2 separate regions of the Homo sapiens genome follow, and region 1 is linked to region 2. Evidence: promoter capture Hi-C in human tissues and cell types (Jung and others, 2019). All regions are on one chromosome and are shown on one strand. The core of a region is centred on a gene start or on the middle of the fragment in contact, and the rest is flanking DNA. Distances in the headings are between cores, read along the strand shown.

The links. Contacts are between HindIII fragments. The study calls those that stand out against the background at their distance.
Region 1: a fragment that was not itself captured here is called in contact with the fragment with the promoter of KLHL14 in region 2 in 1 of the 25 tissues and cell types used here (dorsolateral prefrontal cortex).

Annotation. Positions count from the first base shown.
Region 1 is chr18:32,163,706-32,168,116 of GRCh38, reverse strand. No RefSeq gene overlaps it. Among named protein-coding and RNA genes, the nearest start is that of MEP1B, 24 kb to the left of the region's middle. The HindIII fragment of the contact is 5,135 bases long and covers 1-4,411 here.
Region 2 is chr18:32,771,204-32,775,450 of GRCh38, reverse strand. It overlaps KLHL14 (kelch like family member 14), which reads left to right and starts at 2,428. Exons shown (of 9, transcript NM_020805.3): 1 at 2,428-2,784. It overlaps LOC105372055 (a long non-coding RNA gene), which reads right to left. Exons shown (of 2, transcript XR_935342.4): 1 at 3,164-4,247; 2 at 2,010-2,136. The HindIII fragment of the contact is 6,474 bases long and covers 1,607-4,247 here.

The DNA.
Region 1 (4,411 bases), core at 1,207-3,706, 610 kb after region 2:
CACTCAGTAAATATATGTGGAATGGCTATTAAGTGCCAAGATCTGTTCTGATAAGATAGAAATGTACAGAAAAGGCTTCTTTCCATACAAGAAACTAGGGAAGCAGAGTTAAAATAGCTACCTTGGTATTAAAAAAAAATTCTGGCTGAGCACAGTGGCTCATGCCTGTAATCCCAACACTTTGGGAGGCTGACATGGGTGGATCACTTGAGGCCAGGAGTTCAAAACCAGCCTGGCCAACATGGTGAAATCCCATCTCTACTAAAAATACAAAATTAGCCAGTGGCACACACCTGTAATCCCAGCTACTTGGGAGGCCGAGGCATGAGAATTGCTTGAACTGAGGAGGTGGGAGTTGCAGTGACCTGAGATGGCACTATTTGCACTCCAGCCTGGGTGAGAGAATGAGAGTCTGTCTCAAAAAATAAATAAATATAATAAACAATTTTAATATATATAGAGGCTACCATAAAGGAGCTACTCTACATACTCATTTTTTGAGATCAAATTTACTTGATAAACTTAATTTTATGATTACATAAAAGGGCAAAAAAAAATCTTTTCTGAGAGCCAAGGATACAGCAAAACAGGCAAAAATCCCTGCCTTGATAGAATTTACATTTCAAAGTAGGACACAGATAACTAAAATATAGAGCATGGGAGAAGGTGCTAAGAGATGTGGGGGAAAAAATAGGTTTATTAGGATTTGACCAGAGAAACAAGACCATTAAGAGGTATTCACAGTGGTGGGCTGGAGCTGGCTAGTACTGGCCTGAGAGAGCTATCAGCATCTTCTCTCTTCTCCCCATTCAGTGATGTCACATTGGTGGCTTGAAATTGGCCATGGTAAGAATATTTATACCAGGAAAATTGGCAAATGCTACAAATTAGGGTTTTTTTTTTCTTTTTCCAGAAAGCTGGTTGTTAAACATTTATCCGCATACCACAAACATAAACATGTGTAATGGCTTATTATAAGGACTTATTGTAGGGATTTGCCTACATGCAAATGTGGGGGCTGGTTAAACAGTCTATATGGAGGCTATTGCTTCTGTGTCAGGCACTAGTGCCTGAAATCAATAGGGCAGGTAGTCAAGAAAGGAAGATGGGCTGGGCGCGGTGGCTCACGCCTGTAATCCCAACACTTTGGGAGGCCAAGACGGGTGGATCACGAGGTCAGGAGATCGAGACCATCCCAGCTAACATGGTGAAACCCCGTCACTACTAAAAATACAAAAAACTAGCCAGGCATAGTGGCGGGTGCCTGTAATCCCAGCTACTCGGGAGGCTGAGGCAGGAGAATGGCGTGAACCCGGGAGGTGGAGCCTGCAGTGAGCCGAGATCGCGCCACTGCACTCCAGCCTGGGCGACAGAGCTAGACTCCATCTCCAAAAAAAAAAAGGAAGATGGTAATGAAGTAAGGGAAGCAAGATGGAACCTACACAGCTGAGCTGTAAACCAAGAGGATTGACTGGACTTCTTATGGCTCTCTCACCGTCTCTAAGCCTCCAATTTTGGTGATATGGAGGGTGGGAGGAGGCGTATTGAGGGAGAAGCTGGCCTCCTTCACCATGGAGCTAAACACATCTCTCACCTAACAGTCTGAAAAACTAAAGGAAGATCCAGCTAGAGCTAGAGGAGTGGTCAAGGGTCCAGCCACTGCCCTGTGCCAATCAGGCGAGCCAACAGGTAGCAACAATGCACTGAGCTGCACTAGTCTTCTAAGTGTAAAACAAGATGGTGGTTCCTTCAATTCTGCCTTCTAAGCATGTGAGACACATATCTGTGGCCCATGTGACTTCAGAGCTCTCCAGGGAAGAGAATCTGGGAATGATAACTCCAGCTCAGCTAAGTTAGCACAATATTCATCCACCATGGTTAAGAGAGGGAATAAAGAGTGTCGGGGGAAGGGTAGAAATATTCAATAGGATTGTCAGGGAAGGATTTAACAAGGAGGTGACATCTGAGTAATGATATGAAGGAAGTGAGGGGGCAAGCTCTGGGGATTTTTATGGGAAGAGAGTTCCAGCCATAGGAGATGGCAAATACAAGGCCTTGAGTTGTGAACACAACCAACATGTTCAAACAGCAGCAGGGATAACAGTGTGGCTGGAGGGAGCAAATGAAGAGAGTAGCAAGAGGGGAGGTCAATTTGTTTGAGTGCAGTAGAGAGAGGGAAGGGCTTGTAGGACATTCCAAGACTTTGGCTCCTACTCACTGTGGCATAAGGATCCACTGGATGATTTTCGAGCAGGGGAATAACAAGATCAAATGAGTCTTAGCAGGATTATTCTGGCGGCTCTATTGGGAATACACTGAAAGATTGACAAATGCAGATTATGAGGTTATTGCAGAAATCCACAGGGGAACTGAGGACAGCTTAGACCACGGGAGCCACAGTGGGGATGGTACAGAGAGGTCAGATCCCAGGAATATTTTGAAGGTGAAGTCCATGGAAATTTGAACTGGATGTGTAGTATCAAAGAAAAAGAGGAATCCAGGCCGGGCACGGTGGCTCACGCCTGTAATCTCAGCACTTTGGGAGGCCGAGGCGGGTGGATCACGAGGTCAGGAGATCGAGACCATCCTGGCTAACACAGTGAAACCCCATCTCTACTAAAAATACAAAAAATTAGCCTGGCGTGGTGGTGGGCACCTGTAGTCCCAGCTACTCAAGAGGCTGAGGCAGGAGAATGGTGTGAACCCGGGAGGCGGAGCTTGCTGTGAGCCAAGATTTTGCCACTGCACTCTAGCCTGGGTGACAGAGCGAGACTCTGTCTCAAAAAAAAAAAAAAGAGGAATCTAAGCTGAATCCAAGTTTTAGAGCTAAGCAACTATACCAATAAAGTTGCTATTAAATAAACCTGGAAAAGCATAAGGACAACTAAGCTTGGATGGGATAGGAGGAGGTCAGGAGTTCAGTTTCGACAAACTAAGTTTGAATTTTCTCTTAGACACCAAATTGGAAATGACAGTTGGATCTATGAAGAGGTAAGTACAGGCTAAAGATACCAATTTGGGAGTAACCGCATGCAATGAGAAATATTTAATGCCACAAGATTGGATGAGATCACCAAGGCATGAACAGAGAAGAGAAGGTACAAGGACTGGTCTCCACTAAAAGTTCAGGGACATGAGGAGAAACAAGCAAAAGAAACTAAGGGACTGAGCAGAGAGGTAGGAGAAGAACCAAGAGCTTAGTAGCCTCTGACTCCAGTGACAGAAGAAGGAGGAGGTGATCAGCTGAGTCAGGATGCTGCAGACAGGTCAAATTAGACAAGAACTGAGAGCTGTTTGTTGGATTTACCAAAATGGAGGTCTTTGGCTACCTTGTTAAGGACAATTTAGGCAGACTAGAAGCCATAAAAGCCATACCAGCATGAGTTCACATGAGAATGAAACAGAGAAGTTAGAGACGATGAGTACAGACAATTCTTTTGAGGTGTAAAAGGAAGGACAAAAATGGAACATGAGCTGGAAGGCAGAATGGGGTCAAGGGTTTTGGTTGTGGTTGTGGTCTTGGTTTTGTTCAAACTAGGAGAAATAATAGTATGTTTGTATACTGATAGGAATGATCCACAAAGAGGCTGGATTTTATGAAGGACAGAGGGAGAGGACAATTGCTGAAGCAATGTTATTTTAGGAGGTGAGAGAGGATGAGATCTGTTCCACTGTGGAGGGGTTGCACTCTGAGAAAAGTTACTTTCATCCATAGAAGACCAAGCACTTGAGGTCAGCAGACCGAGGTGGATAGGTAGGTAGGTGTGTGGGTAGGGAGATTGTGGAAGTTCTCTTATTATTTCTAACCTCTCATTTCTATATAAATGGGGTAAAAGTATCACCTGAATAGGGTTTTGGGAGAATTAAGTAAGTTAATACATATAAACACATAGGAGGGTTATAGTGAATGTTAGCAACTATTAGATATTATTCCATGTTAGTCTGGGTGACCTAATTTGTTCTCATGGTTTCGGTGACCTCCTATCCTTAACCTTCACATTCAAAATCCAATTCCTGCTGGACGTATCTCAAAATCAACTCATTTAGAACCCAATTCACTTTGTTCCTCCTAGGGAAAATCTATCTCCTGCAAGCTTCTCTCTGTTAATGGCTCCTCCCACTACCTGGGCACATCAATAGGAACACCTGAGTTTTCTGGATCTCATCCTGTCCTTCATATTCACACCTAAGCCATATCAAGCGTGGCTCATTCTTCCTCCTCAACATTTTGGAAACCCCCTTCTCTCCTCCCCCACCCATCATCCCTACCACATTATCCTTTCAGATTCTCAGCATCTCTCTCTTCTGGACTTTGGCCTCCTAACTGGCTCCTTCTGTCAACATGACCCCCTCTTCTGTATGTACAGAATGGTCTGTCCAAAATGCAAGACACCGTGTCACTTTCTGTGTT
Region 2 (4,247 bases), core at 1,179-3,678:
TAAACATTATCAGATAACTTTAGAATGCAGAAGAAAATGTTTTTATCCACTTCAACAGCCATTTTAGAATTGCCAGCTCCCAATCCCACTCTCTTCCCTTTCCACCCTAGTTGTTAAATAAGCATTAAAATTATAGGTAGCTAAAATTTTTGAAATGTGGCTTTTATATTGTTTGGAAGCAATAAAGAGCCTGGTAATCATAATTAGTGGTCAATATATCCTATCCATAAAAAAATAGAAATTTGAAACTAAGTTATTTTGAGGCCTACAAACATACTTTAATTCTTTCAAGATAAAACAGGAAGGTGGCCATAATTTAAGTGATCAATACTATTATTGCCTTTGGGCTTAGTTCCAAATACTTCATGAGAAGTTCATAAAAGATCAACATCAAAATCATAATATAAAAATTGCACTTTACATGTATGAGAGTTTTGTGACACTCCACATACTTGATAGCTTTAATTGCTAGTGACACAGAACTCCAAAAATGTTCTATCTTAGAGTCACATGATCTTCCTGTTCAACACCCAAATAAGGGAAATTTAAACAAAAATCAAAACAATAATAGGGCCAGGAGAATTGTATAATCTGTTGTCTTTCTCTCCTCTGCCCTAAACAACAACAACAGCAAAATTCTTTTCTATGATTTAATCATGTATTGGGGCATTTCCACTATAAACATAAATATGAGAATGCAGCATCTCAACAGGATCTGAATAAAGAAGTCTTACTCTCAGATAATCTAGAACCTTGACAAAAAAAGTGGGGGGGCTTTGTGAGGGTTAAATGCTTCAGTTTGATCCTTCTTAATTCATTTAAGTGTGACTATCCCATGTGCACGTTAATGTTATCATTGTAAATGGGGAATCCCTATTTCTGAACCTCAGAATTTTTAATTTTCCTCCCTTTCCTAAGCAGGTGTCTTTCCATCTCTCACAAATCAAAGAGGATGATGGGGGGTCTGAATAGATGTCTTGCAATGGTGCCCTGATACGTATTTTAATAAGTTTACTAATCAGAGCACATATAAATTAGAATGAATCATAGTCATATAGTTAATAGCAAACAAAGCTCAATTTAGTTCATGTCCAGCTTTCTTCGTGTTCATTTTACTCAAGGGCATACCTTCCTTTTTCTGCTTCTTTTTTTTCTTTCTTTCTTGGACACCTCCAACCCCCATTGACAACCGAAATGCAGGGCTATAAACATAAGGGTGCAATACATCATGAGATAAGTCTGGAGAACATGTCCTCTACCAAAATGCACATGAATCTCTGGTACAGCTAAAATTCCAGAAACATGCTGGGGTTCCTTTTGCATGCTAAGCAGGGTCAAAAATGTGAGCACTATGTGGTTGCCCTTATATATCAGATGAGCTCTAAAGTTGAAAGGTTACATTTGTGAAATTGCGGCTGGGTTTCCTAGCACTTGATTCTAGCTCCTGCAAATCAAAGACTCCTAATTGAAATACAAATCCAACAATATGATAATCTTTCAGTAAAAAAAAAAAAAAAAAAAAAACGTGACTTCTGCACCCTTATCTGTTGAAGAGCTGACAGAGAAGTTCAGAGGCAGTTGTTTAACCAGACAAAATGATAGAGAAAATATGTTTTCAAATAAGATCATAAACCTTGAACAGTGCCTTGTGGGAAGCAAATGTAAAGCAAAGGGCTGTCCTCTATTCTGTCTACCAGCTCTACTCCCCCACCCCGGTGTGTATCCTCAGCCACTCACCTTTTAGGCAAGGGCTAGTGTCTTTCAGGACAGACCCAAACCCCAAATACCAAAACAGAATAAAGTAGTGTCTTAGCATACTTTGAGATCAGACTGTTTCTGCATTTCACAGTGCTGGGGGTGGGGGGGAGGTGTGGGGGGAAGGGAAAAGCAGCATACCAATGTAGTGAAATCTGGAAACAACAGCATATATACAGACACAAAAAAAGTTTGCATATTGCACAGAGCACTTGAAGATCATAAATCTATGCATGAGAAAGATGTAGTGGAAATTTTGGGGGGGATTAGAGTTTATTTTTGTCATCTCTGTGAGACAGCTACTCATTCATCCAGATCACAGCTAAGAAAAAAGCTGGTCACAGAAATTAGCAGTTTCAGCTCAGCAGCGAAGTCGCCAGCCTGTGAAGGCAGAGAGAAATTGACTAATTAGCAATGCGCACTAAAACTTGACGGTTCTTTATAGAGAGAGAGAAGAGAGAGGGAGAGAGAGGGAGAGGGAGGGAGGGGGGGCTCGCTTTTTCCCCTTCTTTCTTCCAAAGATGTTTGAAATCGCAGTCATTTACGCTCGACAATTTTTACAATAGCCTTGAGCCATAATTTTGCGAGTCTCTCCAGCATCCATCCCCCTGTATGGTCTCTCTCTACTGGCCAAGCACGACCGTTTCTCTCCCCAACCGTGGATTTCCTATTACTCTCGTTACGACTCACTGAGCCCCAGGCCCAAGGATAATGATGTGTTGTTTCTTGGTAGCATAATTTGTCACACGTACATTTTTTCTTCTTCTTCTCTTGCAGAAAGCTCTGCTCCCTCTCTCTCTCCCTCTCTCTTTCTCTCTTTTCTCCCTCTCCTACATTTTCTTGCTGTTGCTAATTCATGGTGATCAAATGATGTACGACAAAATAAATTGTAAAGAGTGACTGCCTGGAGTTGGGAACCAGAAGGTGTTTTCCCCCTCCCAAGGAGACAGCAAACCTTTAAAAAGGAAGGACAATTGATTTTTGGGGGGAGCTTAAGTGAGCCTTGACTTTGCAGCTGGTTGAGAACAGGTAAGTTTCTGGCCTTGTGTCTGCCTTGTGTGTATTTTGTTCTGTCTTTTGGATTGTTGGAGGGGGAAGGGCCGGGGAGGGAGTCTTTCAGAGGGGTTGGCGGGGGGGTAGTTGTATGGCAAACGCTCATAAAGAAAAAACTCCTATTGCAAGAAATAAGCAGATGAGGAGGAAAGGCAAGGGAGAAGAACAAGAAGGAAGGGGAATAGGAAAAGATGGGGCGGGGGGAGACAACGAAGCGGAGAGAGCTAGAGAGAGGTATGACCGGGTCCTCTTAAAGGGAGAGAGACTCTGTAAGATGTTTCAGGCAAGCCAGAGCTTTGGGGGCGGGCGTGGGGGTGCTGCCGGCGGAGGGAGCGCGAGGGAGGGTAGGGTCCACCTGGAACGGGATGGTAAAGTGAGTCGAAAGGAGCCCAGTCCGGTATAAATAGGAAGCCGGCGATCCAGGACCGGCGCCAGGCAGGGCAGAGTGAGCCGCAGTGGAAGGGGCAGGTCCGCCGGGATCCCTCCGAGCCGGGCGGCGGCGGCGGCTCTCCCCCGGGCGGGCGGGCCGGCGGGCCGGCGGGCCGGCGCGCGGGCGGGATGCAAGCAGAGGGTCCCTTTCTGCTCAGCCCTGGAAGGTGCAATTACAGGTTAAGGACCTGGCGTATCGATTTCGCCTCGCCTCCCCCACCCTGCCCTCCTCTGCCTAGATGCGGGCGGCTCAGACTTTTTACAGAAGTAGTTCCAGGGCCGGGGAAGTGGGGGTGCCCGAGTGGGGGGCCGCTGGGGGCTCTACCGAGGGGGTCAGAAGGGAGCTGCGGCTGCAGGCGACGATGCTGGGTGGGGCGCAGAGACCCCGCACCCCACTGCTCCCCCGCCCCCCCGCTCGTTCGACAGCCCCCACCCCTCCCCCAACACCTGCCTTCTAACTTGAACTTCTCATAGTTACTGGAGTTAAAGCGACTGCGCCTGGTGCCCGGGAGGGGAAACCGTGCACACGAATCCCTCCCGGCCTCCAGGCCTCCCGGCTCCCTCTCCAAACGCGTCCTCGCAGCCCCACTTCCTCCCCCTGAGTCCTCGGTGCCGCCCCTCGCTGGAAGGGGAGATTGATGCCTGAACTTCCGCGCTTTGAAATGAGCGAGACGGGGGAGAGGGGGCCACCGGGTGGGGGTGGCGGTGGTGGAAGGATTCTCCTGCCAGGTTTAAAGCCATCTCTGGAAAATTAGCCAAACTGAGTGGTGACGGGGAAGCCAACAGTTTGCGAAGCGGGGAAGCGGGCAGGGCCAGGTTGAGGGAAATGAGCTCGAATTGATAAGGACAGCTCCCGCCTCTGCCGATTCCACTGAGCGGGTCCTCACCGCGCTCCGCTGCACTTTCCCGGGAGAAGAAAGGGCTTTATCTCCTCCCTCAGACTATTAGCCTAGGAGTTTCTCGGGGCAGCATGGATAATCGAAGGGGGTCCCAGCTTTTGGAGAGCTAAG